Regions from separate parts of the Homo sapiens genome. Here regions 1 and 2 are each linked to region 3. The links are contacts of gene promoters, found by promoter capture Hi-C in human tissues and cell types (Jung and others, 2019). All regions are on one chromosome and are shown on one strand. The core of a region is centred on a gene start or on the middle of the fragment in contact, and the rest is flanking DNA. Distances in the headings are between cores, read along the strand shown.

Evidence for each region. The method cuts DNA at HindIII sites, captures the fragments that hold promoters and counts their contacts. A contact is called where the count stands out against the background at its distance.
Region 1: a contact is called between a fragment that was not itself captured here and the fragment with the promoter of LPIN2 in region 3, in 2 of the 25 tissues and cell types used here (IMR-90 fibroblasts and mesenchymal stem cells).
Region 2: a contact is called between a fragment that was not itself captured here and the fragment with the promoter of LPIN2 in region 3, in 1 of the 25 tissues and cell types used here (thymus).

The regions. Positions count from the first base shown.
Region 1 is chr18:3,697,759-3,701,516 of GRCh38, reverse strand. All of the region lies in intron 7 of DLGAP1 (DLG associated protein 1), which reads left to right. Among named protein-coding and RNA genes, the nearest start is that of DLGAP1-AS6, 47 kb to the right of the region's middle. The HindIII fragment of the contact is 3,729 bases long and covers 281-3,758 here.
Region 2 is chr18:3,615,568-3,619,841 of GRCh38, reverse strand. All of the region lies in intron 7 of DLGAP1 (DLG associated protein 1), which reads left to right. Among named protein-coding and RNA genes, the nearest start is that of DLGAP1-AS2, 14 kb to the right of the region's middle. The HindIII fragment of the contact is 4,989 bases long and covers 1-4,274 here.
Region 3 is chr18:3,011,440-3,015,491 of GRCh38, reverse strand. It overlaps LPIN2 (lipin 2), which reads left to right and starts at 2,348. Exons shown (of 20, transcript NM_001375808.2): 1 at 2,348-2,405. RefSeq lists a silencer at 1,958-2,907. The HindIII fragment of the contact is 11,400 bases long and covers 1-4,052 here.

The DNA.
Region 1 (3,758 bases), core at 896-3,395, 690 kb before region 3:
AGCATGGGTCGAATCCTTCTGCTTTGCCCGGCTTTTTTCTTTGATGTTGCAGCACTGTCATTCTCCTAATCACATATTATTATTTTAACATTCTTCAGCAACCAGGATTCTCAATGATTTGTAGGGAGGGACGTGATTGCTTTTGGAGGCCCCAACACAGGGTCATTGCTTTCCCTTCTCACCCTTAACGGGAACACCACACATAGACACTACAGAATGAAGAATAGCTGAAGAAGGCTTTCACCCTGGATCCGGACTGTTTGGTTCTTTCTTCTTGAGTCATGTGGCATTTGGCTCCTCTGATGAGATCATTAGTACACTTAAAAAGCCATCATCAGGCCAGGTGCTGTGGGTCACACCTATAGTCCCAGCACTTTGGGAGGCCGAGCCTGGAAGATCATTTGAGCCAGGAATTCAAGACCAGCCTGGGTAACATAGCACAACCCCACCTCAACAAAAAATTTAAAACTTAGCCTGGTATGGCAGAGTGCACTCCTGTAGTCCTAGCTACTAAGGAGGCTGAAGCAGGAGGATCACGTAAGCCCAGGAGGTCAAGGCTGCAGTAAGCTATGATCCCACTACTGCATTCCAGCCTGGGCAACAAAGTCGGCTGGGCGTGATGGCTCACCCCTGTAATTCCACCATTTTGGGAGGCCGAGGTGGGCGGATCATGAGGTCAAGAGACAGAGACCATCCTGGCTAAAACGGTGAAACCCCGTCTTTACCAAAAGTACAAAAAATTAGCCGGGCGTGGTGGTGGGCGCCTGTAGTCCCAGCTACTCGGGAGGCTGAGGCAGGAGAATGGCGTGAACCTGGGAGGTAGAGCTTGCAGTGAGCTGAGATCACACCACTGCACTCCAGCCTGGGCAACAGACAGAGACTCTGTCTCAAAAAACAATTAAAATTTTAAAAAAATAAAATAAAATGCTAGGTGGCTGGCAAGATGGCTGAATAGGAACAGCTCCAGTCTGCAGCTCCCAGTGAGATCAACACAGAAGGCAGGTGATTTCTGCATTTCCAGCTGAGGTACACGGCCCATCTCACTGGGACTGGTTAGATAGTGGGTATAGCCCACAGAGGGCGAGCTGAAGCAGGGTGGGGTTTTGCCTTACTCGGGAAGCACAAGGGGTTGAGGAACTTCCTCCCCTAGCCGAAGGAAGCCTTGAGGGACTGTGCTGTGAGGAACAGTGCGTTCCGGCTCAGATACTATGCTTTTCCCATGGTCTTCACAGCCCGCAAACCAGGAGATTCCCTTGGGTGCCTACACCACCAGGGCCCTGGGTTTCAAGCACAAAAACTGGGTGGCTATTTAGACAGACACCTAGCTAGCTGCGGGAGTTTTTTCATACCCCAGTGGTGCCTGGAACACCAGCGAGACAGAATCTTTCACTACCCTGGAAAGGGGGCTGAAGCCAGGGAGCCAAGTGGTCTAGCTCAGCGGATCCCACCCCCAGAGAGCCTAGCAAGCTAAGATCCACTGGCTTGAAATTCTCATTGCCAGAACAGCAGCCTGAAGTCCACCTGGGACGCTTGAGCTTGGTCAGGGGCGGGGCGTCCACCATTGCTGAGGCTTGAGTAGGCAGTTTTCCCTTCACAGTGTAAACAAAGCCATGGGGAAGTTTGAACCGCAGCTCAGCAAAGCCACTGTAGCCAGACTGCCTCTCTAGCTTCCTCCTCTCTGGGCAGGGCATCTCTGAAAGAAACGCAGCAGCCCCAGTCAGGGGCCTATAAGTAAAACTCCCATCTCCCTGGGACAGAGCACCTGGGGGAAGGGGCAGCTATGGAGACAGCTTCAGCAGGCTTAAACGTTTCTGTCTGACAGCTCTGAAGAGAGCAGTGGATCTCCCAGCACAGTGCTCAAGCTCTGCTAAGGGACACTCTGCTTCCTCAAGTGGGTCCCTGACCCCCATGCCTCCTGACTGGGAGATACCTCCCAGCAGGAGTCAACAGACACCACATACAGGAGAGCTCTGGCTGTCATCTGGCAGATGCCCCTCTGGGATGAAGCTTCCAGAGGAAAGAACAGCAATCTTTGCTGTTCTGCAGCCTCCGCTGGTGATACCCAGGCAACAGGATCTGGAGCGGACCTCCAGAAAACTCCAGCAGACCTACAGCAGAGGGCAGGTTAGAAGGAAAACTAACAAACAGAAAGGAATAGCATCAACATCAACAAAAAGGACATCCACACAAAAACCCCATCTGAAAGTCACCAACATCAAAGACCAAAGGTAGATAAATCCACGAAGATGAGGAAAAACCAGTGCAAAAAGGCTGAAAATTCCGAAAACCAGAATGCCTCTTCTCCTCCAAAGGATCACAACTCCTCGCCAGCAAGGGAACAAAACTGGATGGAGAATGAGTTTGACGAATTGATGGAAGTAGGCTTCAGAAGTTGGGTAATAACAAACTCCTCCGAGCAAAAGGAGCGTGTTCTAACCCAATGCAAGGAAGCTAAGAACCTTGAAAAAAGGTTAGAGGAATTGATAGCTAGAATAACCAGATTAGAGAAGAACATAAATGACCTGATGTAGCTGAGAAACACAGCACGAGGACTTCGTGAAGCATACACAAGTATCAATAGCCAAATCGATCAAGCGGAAGAAAGGATATCAGAGATTGAAGATCAACTTAATGAAATAAAGCATGAAGACAAGATTAGAGAAGAAAGAATGAAAAGGAATGAACAAAGCCTCCAAGAAATATGGGACTATGTGAAAAGACCAAACTTATGTTTGATTGGTGTACCTGAAAGTGATGGGGAGAAAGGAACCAAGTTGGAAAACGTTCTTCAGGATATTACCCAGGAGAACTTCCCTAACCTAGCAAGACAGGCCAACATTCAAATTCAGGAAATACAGAGAACACTACAAAGATACTCCTCAAGAAGAGCAACCCCAAGACACATAATCATCAGAGAGAAAGGTCGGGTTACCCACAAAGGGAAGCCCATCAGACTAACAGCAGATCTCTCTGCAGAAACCCTACAAGCCAGAAGACAGTGGAGGCTAATATTCAACATTCTTAAAGAAAGGAATTTTCAACCCAGAATTTCATATCCAGCCAAACTAAGCTTCTTAAGTGAAGAAGAAATAAAATCCTTTACAGACAAGCAAATGCTGAGAGATTTTTGTCACCACCAGGCCTGCCTTACAAGAGCTCCTGGAGGAAGCACTAAAGATGGAAAGGAAAAACCAGTACCAGCCACTGCAGAAACATATCAAATTGTAAAGACCATTGACACTATGAAGAAACTGCTTCAACTAATGGGCAAAATAACCAGGAAACATCATAATGACAGGATCAAATTCACACAAACAGTATTAACCTTAAATTTGAACAGGCTAAATGCCCCAATTAAAAGACACAGAGTGGCAAATTGGATAAAGAGTCAAGGCCCAGCGGTGTGCTGTATTCAGGAGACCAAACTCATGTGCAAAGACACACATAGGCTCAAAATAAAGGGATGGAGGAATATTTACCAAGCAAATGGAAAGCAAGAAAAAAGCAGGAGTTGCAATCCTAGTCTCTGATAAAACAGACTTTAAGCCAATAAAGATCAAAAAAGACTAAGAAGGGCATTACATAATGGTTAAGGAGTCAATGCAACAAGAAGAGCTAACTATCCTAAATATATATGCATCTAATATAGGAGCACCCAGATTCATAAAGCAAGTTCTTAGAGACCTACAAAGAGACTTAGGCTTCCACACAATAATAGTGGGAGACTTAAACACCCCTCTGTCAATATTAGACAGATC
Region 2 (4,274 bases), core at 627-3,126, 600 kb before region 3:
ATAGCAAGACCTCATCTCAAAAAACAAAAAACAAAAAAAAACCAACTCCGGCAAATATCCTTCCATCCCATATCTCCCACCAAAAAAAAAAAAAAAAAAGGAAAAAACTAAAAGAGCATCAGGATTTGCATGACGCTAAGTCAGAAGGTAAAGCCAAATTTTCCCCTTCTTCTGACTTACCTGATAATAAAGCAGTGTCGCAGGACGGGGTGGTGGGAAAAGTCAAAGAGACTGGAAGAAGAGGAGAGAAGGAAGGACTAGGGCGGCTAGAAGAGGGAAGGGGTTAGTGACTTGCATCAATATGGGCCTCTTGACCATGCACCAAACACCTACTCAGTCTCCCTGCTACTTTCTGGACTTTCTAGGACTGGAACCCTGGTCCCTTCCCTTTTGAGTCAAGAGACCTTAGTGACCCCACTAGACTTGCAGGTCAGCAGCGCCCCTGCCCAGCCCCCAGCACTGCTTTACCATCCTGCCTGCAGGCCACCTGGGAAAGATGCAGAAAGAGAAACTGCGCTAAAAGGCTAGACTCTTGCATGTTGAAATTTCTGCTTATTACCTTTGGAATTTTTCTGAAGTCCCAGCCTTAAGGCTGTGAATTCTCTGTTTGTGGGTATGTTAGTTTGCTAGGGCTGCCATAACTAAGTACCATAGATGGGGTGCCTTAAACAACAGAAGCTTATTTCCTCACAGTTCTGGAAGCTGGGAGACCAAGATCAAGGTATCAGCAAGGTGGTTTCTTCTGAGGCCTCTCTCTGTGGCTTGCGGGTGGCTGGCCTCTCTCTGTCCTCACTTGGTCTATGCACGTAGGTCCTGCTGTCTCTCTTCTTAGAAGGACGCCAGTCATATTGGATTATGACCCTAATGACCCAATTAACTTAATCATCTCTTTTTTTTTTTTTTGAGACGGAGTCTCGCTCAGTCACCCAGGCTGGAGTGCAGTGACACGATCTCGGCTCACTGCCAGCTCCGCTTCCCAGGTTCACACCATTCTCCTGCCTCAGCATCCCGAGTAGCTGGGACTACAGGCACCCGCCACTTCACCCGGCTAATTTTTTTGTATTTTTAGTAGAGACGGGGTTTCACCGTGTTAGCCAGGATGGTCTCGGTCTCCTGACCTCCTGATCCGCTCGTCTCGGCCTCCCAAAGTGCTGGGATTACAGGCGTGAGCCACCCTGCCCGGCCCAGAACTGCCTTGTCATAGCTATGTTGGGTTAGGGTTGGGAAAAAGGCAGAAAAGGTCAAAGAAGCCTCCAAAAGCCCAGGCTTAACCTGTGTAAGCAAATAGCAACATTTATGGCTAGCAGTCACCAGTGCCAACTCCCTGCAGGTTATTTATTTGATGCACAATTCACAGCTATTCCCCTAAATTCCACCAAGTCCATACACACCCTGGACACAGTGGAAATAAAGGAGCAGCCAGTGAGTGTTTGTGTCGGATGTTCTTTGAAAGGGCTGTTTGACAGAAATGATTTCATTCTCAAGGCATGGCTTTGATACGGAAGTCAAACAGCCCGCAAGTTGAAACAAACCAAATAGCCTTATCTTATTATTGATTCATGGGTTTCTCTCTCTTCAAAGCCCCTTAAAGGCCGGACTCTGCGAATTGTAACTTGTTAGAGTAATTGCTGTTGCAAAGTCCTTCCTGGAACAGGTTGTGTCTTTGACTTACAGGATCTGAATTCTCTGACATTTTTCCTTGATAAACCTTTGTTAGACTCTGGTCAAACTCACTAGCCAATATAGGTTTAAATACAGGCACACATTGTTTAATTGTGCTTTTCTTTCTTTCTTTCTTTCTTTTGAGATGGAGTTTCACTTTTGTCACCCAGGCTGGAGGGCAATGGCACGATCTTGGCTCACAGCAACCTCCGCCTCCCGGGTTCAAACAATTCTCCTACCTCAATCTCCTGAGTAGCTGGGATTACAGGCGCCTGCCACCACGCCCAGCTAATTTTTTTGTATTTTTAGTAGTGATGGGGTTTCACCATGTTGCCCAGGCTGGTCTCGATCTCCTGAGCTCAGGTGATCCACCCGCCTTGGCCTCCCAAAGTGCTGGGATTACAGGAGTGAGCCACCATGCCCGGCAATTACACTTTTCTTTATCAGGCCTTGCAGATGTGTTTTTCACAAATCAAGGGTTTGTGGCAACCATGCATGGAGCAAGTCTATCAACACCATTTTTCCAACAGCATGTGCTCACTTCATGTCTCTGTGTCAGCAGTTTTCAACAATTTTTTTTTTTTTTTTGAGATGGAGTTTCACTCGTGTTGCCCAGGCTGAAGTGCAATGGTGGGATCTCAGCTCACTGCAACCTCCACCTCCCGGATTCTTCTGCCTCAGCCTCCCAAGTAGCTGGGATTACAGGCGCCCACCACCACGCCCAGCTAATTTTTTATATTTTTACTAGAGATGGGGTTTCACCATGTTGGTCAAGCTAGTCTTGAACTTCTGACCTCAGGTGATCCACCTGCCTTGGCCTCCCAGAGTGCCGGGATTACAGGTGTAAGCCACTGCCCCCAGCCAGCAGTATTTTTTGTTTATTTTTAATAGAAAGATCAGGTGATTGGGCTCAGGCCAGCCTCAGTTTGAATCCCATCTCTGCCACTCACTAGTTTGGGGAAAATGTTCTGTTTCTTTCTATGCAACGGATCACCCCCAAAACTTAATGTCTTAAAGCAATCATCTCATCACTTCTCAGTCTCTGGGGGTCAGGAATTTGGGGAGAGCTTTGGCGGGGTAGTTCTGGCTCAGCATCTCTCCTGAGCTTGCAGTCTCTCCAGGTGAGGGCTGGAGCAAGTGGGGCTGGCTGAGCATCTCCTACAGTTTCAAGGCTTTTCAGGTGGTCTTTCACATGGACTCACTTGGGCTTCCTTACAGCATGGCAGCCTCAGGACAGCTGGGCTACTTATGTGCTGACTGGTAAAAGTTACATCACCTGTTCTGATCTAGCCTCAGAGGTCATGCAGTGTCACTTCCTTCCAATTGTCTTAATTATAGGCAAATCACAAACCTCTCGGATTCAAGGAAAAGGGAATTCGTCCACCTCTTTTTTTTTTCCAGTTTGTTTGTTTCTTTTTGTTTTTTTGAGACAGGGTCTCCCTCTGCCGCCTAGGGTGGTTTAAGTGGCACAATCACGGCTCACTGCAGCCTCGACCTTCTGGGCTCAAGTGATCCTCCAACCTCAGCCTCTGGAGTAGCTGGGACTACAGGTGCACGCCACCACAGCAGGCTAATTTTTTTTTTTTTTGTTTTGTGGAGATGGGGTTTCACCATGTTTCCCAGGCTGGTCTCAAACTCCTGGGCTCAAGGGATCCTCCCACCTCAGCCTCCCAAAGTGCTGGGATTATAGGTGTGAGCCACTGCACCTGGCCTAGACTCTACCTCTTGAAGGGAAGCAGCAAAGTTCTAGAGCACAGATTGGCAAACTATCGCCCTCAGACCACCGAATGGGCTCACCTCTCAAACACAAACAAGGCTGTACATGTACACATCGCCCAGGGCTGTGCCACAGTGATAGAGTAGTCAGGTCAGACAGCGAATGATCCACACATCCTAAAATACGTGCTGGATGGCTTTTAACAGAAAAAGTTTGTGAACACCTGTTCTAGAAGGACATGTCAGATGGAAGATATTGTTGCAGCCACTTTTGGAAAATGCAGTCTCCCGAGGGCTGGTTACCAGCCTGTCAACTTTAGCTGCACCTCTAAATCTGTGAAATGGAATAATAATCCCACGTACAAATTACTCAGCAGAACTCTATGCCTGTGACAGGCAAAGTATACAATTTCATTTCTCCTTCCTGGGCTTCATTATGATTTGAGAGCCACAGAAAGGTCTTAGCTGCACTATGGGTCTGTTAGCAGTGCCAGAAATTCCCCACTTTAAATATCCCTCGGAGTTAAGGCCAACTTTATAGAAACCTCCCTTTTAAAATACACATTTCTTACCCTTGAGGGAAGAAATGTTTGCAAAAATTCCTGCTAAAATGCCCCCTCCCCACCTAAAATGCATTCTCTTATCAAACTAGCTAAATTTTTACCTCTCAAAGGCAAGTGTCTCAGGGAATGAGAGAGTGAGTTAATTTGGGCTGGAGCCAGTTGGGGGAAACAGGCTGTCAGGGTGTCTCCAGTTGCCTACAGAGACAGACTTGAGAAATTTTAGCTACTGCACAAGTGTGCCCAGGGCTCACTGCTTCAGACAAAGCAATGAAAAATGCAGCTTTCTTGGCCTCCCCCATCTCCATCGGCTCCATTTTCCTACTGGCCAGACTT
Region 3 (4,052 bases), core at 1,099-3,598:
AGTAGGTGGACCTGGGGTGGCCCCTCCACACTTCCTAGGGCAGGAGGTGAAGGGATTTATCATGCAACAAACATTTAATGAGTCACCACTTAAGTGGTAGTGTAAGCTGGTGGACACGGGAAAATGAGGAAAATATTAGCAATATGAACCAATCGTTCTGAGTGAGGTCTCAAACGCAAGGTTGTTTGGAGGAAGGGAGGGGAGCTCTAGGGCTTCCTGAATGATGAAAGGAAGGAAGGGAGCTTGGCAGAATATTTCCCTCCCAAGGCAGAGATAGAGAAAATAGCCTGAGAGAAACAGGAAAAGTCTAAGTGGGAGAAATGGAAGAAAGGAAAGAAAATAAACGCTAACAGCCTGTTCCAGGTTGCAGACACTAACGTAGGCACTTTATAGGTTATCACGGGGAATCCACAAAACAATTCTGTAAGAAAGACACTACTATCTTTATTTTACTGACGTAGAAACTGAGGATTAAATTCTTTCTCTAGCTTTAATTTTTCTTCTCCATATTTATAAAATCCATTGAATACGGAGGGGGATATTTTAGTCCTCTTCAATTTTTATTTTACTTGTGAAGCCAAGTGAGAAGCAGTGAAATGAGGAAAATTCCTAGTGGTCTTGTGCCAGTGAAACTACCTATGTTTCTGTAGGGCCTTGATTACAGATGGGGCAAAACTTGATCGAGTTTCACAGAAAAGCAGAAGGAACTTCAGTGAAGAAGTGGTCGCCTGCTCCCTGAATCCAAGCACTGCCCAGCTACACCAGGCACTGGTGGGAAGAAACTGGGCTGCAGCTGGATCCTTCAAGGAGCAGCTTTGTGTATGCAAATGCCTATTTCAGTACCCTTAGAACTGTATAAATGATCACACACAAGATGCACCTCATAAATTAACTGCCATTTATATAGAAGTAACATAGGCTTCTGTTCATTACTTTCAATCATAGAATAGTAATAGAATAGGCTGCAAATTAAAAACCAGTGTGCACCAATAGTATATAGCACCAGCAATCCAGTTTTTTTTGTTTTTTTTTTTTTTGAGACAGAGTTTCGCTCCCAGGCTGGAGTGAAGTGGCGCAATCTCTGCTCACTGCAACCTCCGCCCCCCGGGTTCAAGTGATTCTACCGCCTCTGCCTCCTAAGTAGCTGGGATTGCAGCCAACATGCCCGGCTAATTTTTGTATTTTTAGTAGAGGCGGGGTTTTGCCACGTTGGCCAGGCTAGTCTCCAACTCCTGACCTCAGGCGATCGACCCGCCTTGGCCTCCCAAAGTGCTGGGATTACCGGCGTGAGCCACCGCGCCGGGCCCCATTTCTTTTCTTTCTGAGACGGAGTCTCTCTGTCGCCAGGCTGGAGTGCAATAGCGCCATCTCGGCTCACTGCAATCTCCGCCTCCCGGGTTCAACTGATTCTCCTGCCTCAGCCTCCTGAGAAGCTGGGATTACAGGCACGCGCCACCACGCCCGGCTGGTTTTTTGTATTTTTAGTAGAGACGGGGGTTTCACCATGTTGGCCAGGCTGGTCTTGAACTCCTGACCTCAAGTGATCCGCCTGCCTCGGCCTTCCAAAGTGCTAGGATTACAGGCGTGAGCCACCCATTTCTTAAAAAGTATATTTTAATGCTGGGGACGGTGGCTCATGCCTGTAATTCCAGTACTTTGGGAGGCCGAGGTGCGGGGATGCTTGAGCCCAGGAGTTGGAGACCAGCCGGGGTAACAGAGCGATAAAAAGAATAAACAAAAAACAACAGAACCCCGGCATATTTTTAAAAATGAGTTGTGTAATAGGATTTTTTTTTTTTCGGTGGAGATGTAAGTAAGCAAAGGAGATGTGCTACTAGTGATCAAAAGGGGATTATAAAACATTCATTCCCTAGACTTTTTTTGCACTTTAACATTCCTTTTTGGCAATTGGGCTCTCAGTCCCACGTGACCTGCCGCAGGGTTGCCATGGGGACCGGAAGAAACTTTTTTTTTTTAAAACAAAGTAAGGCTCCTGTCGCCCGAGGCACTAGAAAATCGAGGCCCCGCCCTCACTTGGCCAGGGGCCCGGGCGCGCAGCCCAGGGACTGGGAGCGGTGAGAAGCCGCACGCCTGGCGCTCGGCGGCGGGGGCGCGGCGCGCGGCCGGGAGCGCGCGTCACGTGGCTGGGGCGGGGCCTGCGCGCTGCCCGCCCGCCAGCTGCCGGCTCGGCCGCCGCAGCCGCGGCGTCCCATTCATGAGGGCCGCCCGACTCAGCTGCGGCCCAGGCGGCTTCCAAGGCAGCGGCGGCTGCGGGCGCTCCGACCCCGCGCGCGCCCCCGACCGGCCCCGCCCCCTCGGCTTCCCTCCCCGGCGGGTCCTAGCCGTCGCAGTCCAGCCGCCGCCTGCCCTCAGCCGCCCGCTGGCCGGGAGCGGAGCCCCTGTGGGTAAGTGGGCGCGGGCCGGGCTCCTCGCAGGCGTCCCTCCGGGGCTGGCGGTGAGTGTCTGCGCCTGGGGGCTTCCCTTGGCGCGGGCCCGGGGCTGTCCTGCCGGAGGCCGGGACCCTCCGGGGCGGCGCGGGTTGAGCCGCCCCTCCTCGCGCCGCGGTCCCCGCTTCCCGGTCCTCGCGTCCCAGTCCCCGCCTCGCCGCGACCGCGCCACGTAGACGCGGCCCCTACCGCCGCCGCCGCAGGACGGACCGGCGGGGTGCGCGGGGAGCCGGGGGCGTCGGGGCGTCAGTGGTGGCTGCTGAGGACTCTGAACCCGCGCAGTTCCCTCGCCGCCGCCCTGGGGATGGTTACCCGAGACCACCCCTACCCCTGGGTTTGGGGCGCGGAGGGGAGTGCGGAAGGCGCGCGGGAGGCCGCGTCTCCATCCCGCCCCCGGCCCTGCGGGAGGGGGCGCCGGGCACGTGATCTGCGGCGAGGCGGGGGCCGCCGAGTTGCTGGTGTTTCTTCCCCGCCGCGCTTTGCCCCGTACCTCCGCCTTCAAGCTGTGTGGACCGGATTCAAATGTGGTTAGTTTTCTCAAAGCCCCCCAGCCCCCGGTGCAGATCTTAATTTGTGAGGAACACGTTCAGATACAGTTTGTACTGAGAGCCTCTCTGTCCACTTCTAACGCCAGCGGATCACCATTTTCTCCACTCGCCTGAACATTTTAAGACTCTTTTCATTGAAAATTCAAGATGACATTTTTTAGGCATAATTATGCAAACCAGTACCAGAAAGATCACCCTTCCTTTCCGAAAAGTACTGGAACTCTGAATACTTGGAAATGCTTTGAAGGACTACTTAGTAAATGGCCAAACTAATTTTTAATGCACATTTGGGGCTTACCCATTTTTTTTTTAATTGAAAACGAGGCTCTAGACTTGGTGTCAAGGTAGGTCCTGTTGAATGAAGTTCTTTACCCAGTAGTGATGATGGGTGTTACTGTTTATTAAAACTTGGCCTGGCTAGATTATAATGTTTTGACAATACAAAGTCGGTTTTGAAATACATTTTGAAATATTTACGAATTATTTAGTGGCCCATACTGGTTTATGTTTTAACGGTCTGGTGTTGATCGTTCTTAGTGGCTTCAGATTGAGAAGAAGTGGCAGGTGATGCTGAAGCGGGGGAGAAGCGGCAGAGCCGGCCACACAGTGCAGGGGATGGAGACAGGTGCTGGGCTGGTCCTCCTGCAGCATCCTCAGTTGTTGGAGGGCAGTCATCCTCAGGCCGTACCCAGCCAGAGAAGAAAAAGAACAGTGTGAAGCCACGTGTGATAGCCGTCCAACATCGGCTCTTCCCTCCAATTACATTGTAGTTGATTGTGGTATGTCAGACTGAAGTATCTCTTTTATTTCGAGACAGAGTCTCACTCTGTCGCCCAGGCTGGAGTGTAGTTGCGCGATCTCCGATCACTGCAATCTCTGCCTCCTCTGTTAAAGCGATTCTTGTGCCCCAGCCTCCCGAGTAGCTGGGATTACAGGCATGAGCCACCACACTCAGCTAATTTTTGTATTTTTATTAGAGACCGGGGGTTTCACCATGTTGGCCAGGCTGGTCTCGAACTGCCGACCTCAGGTGATCCGCCCCCCTCGGCCTCCCAAA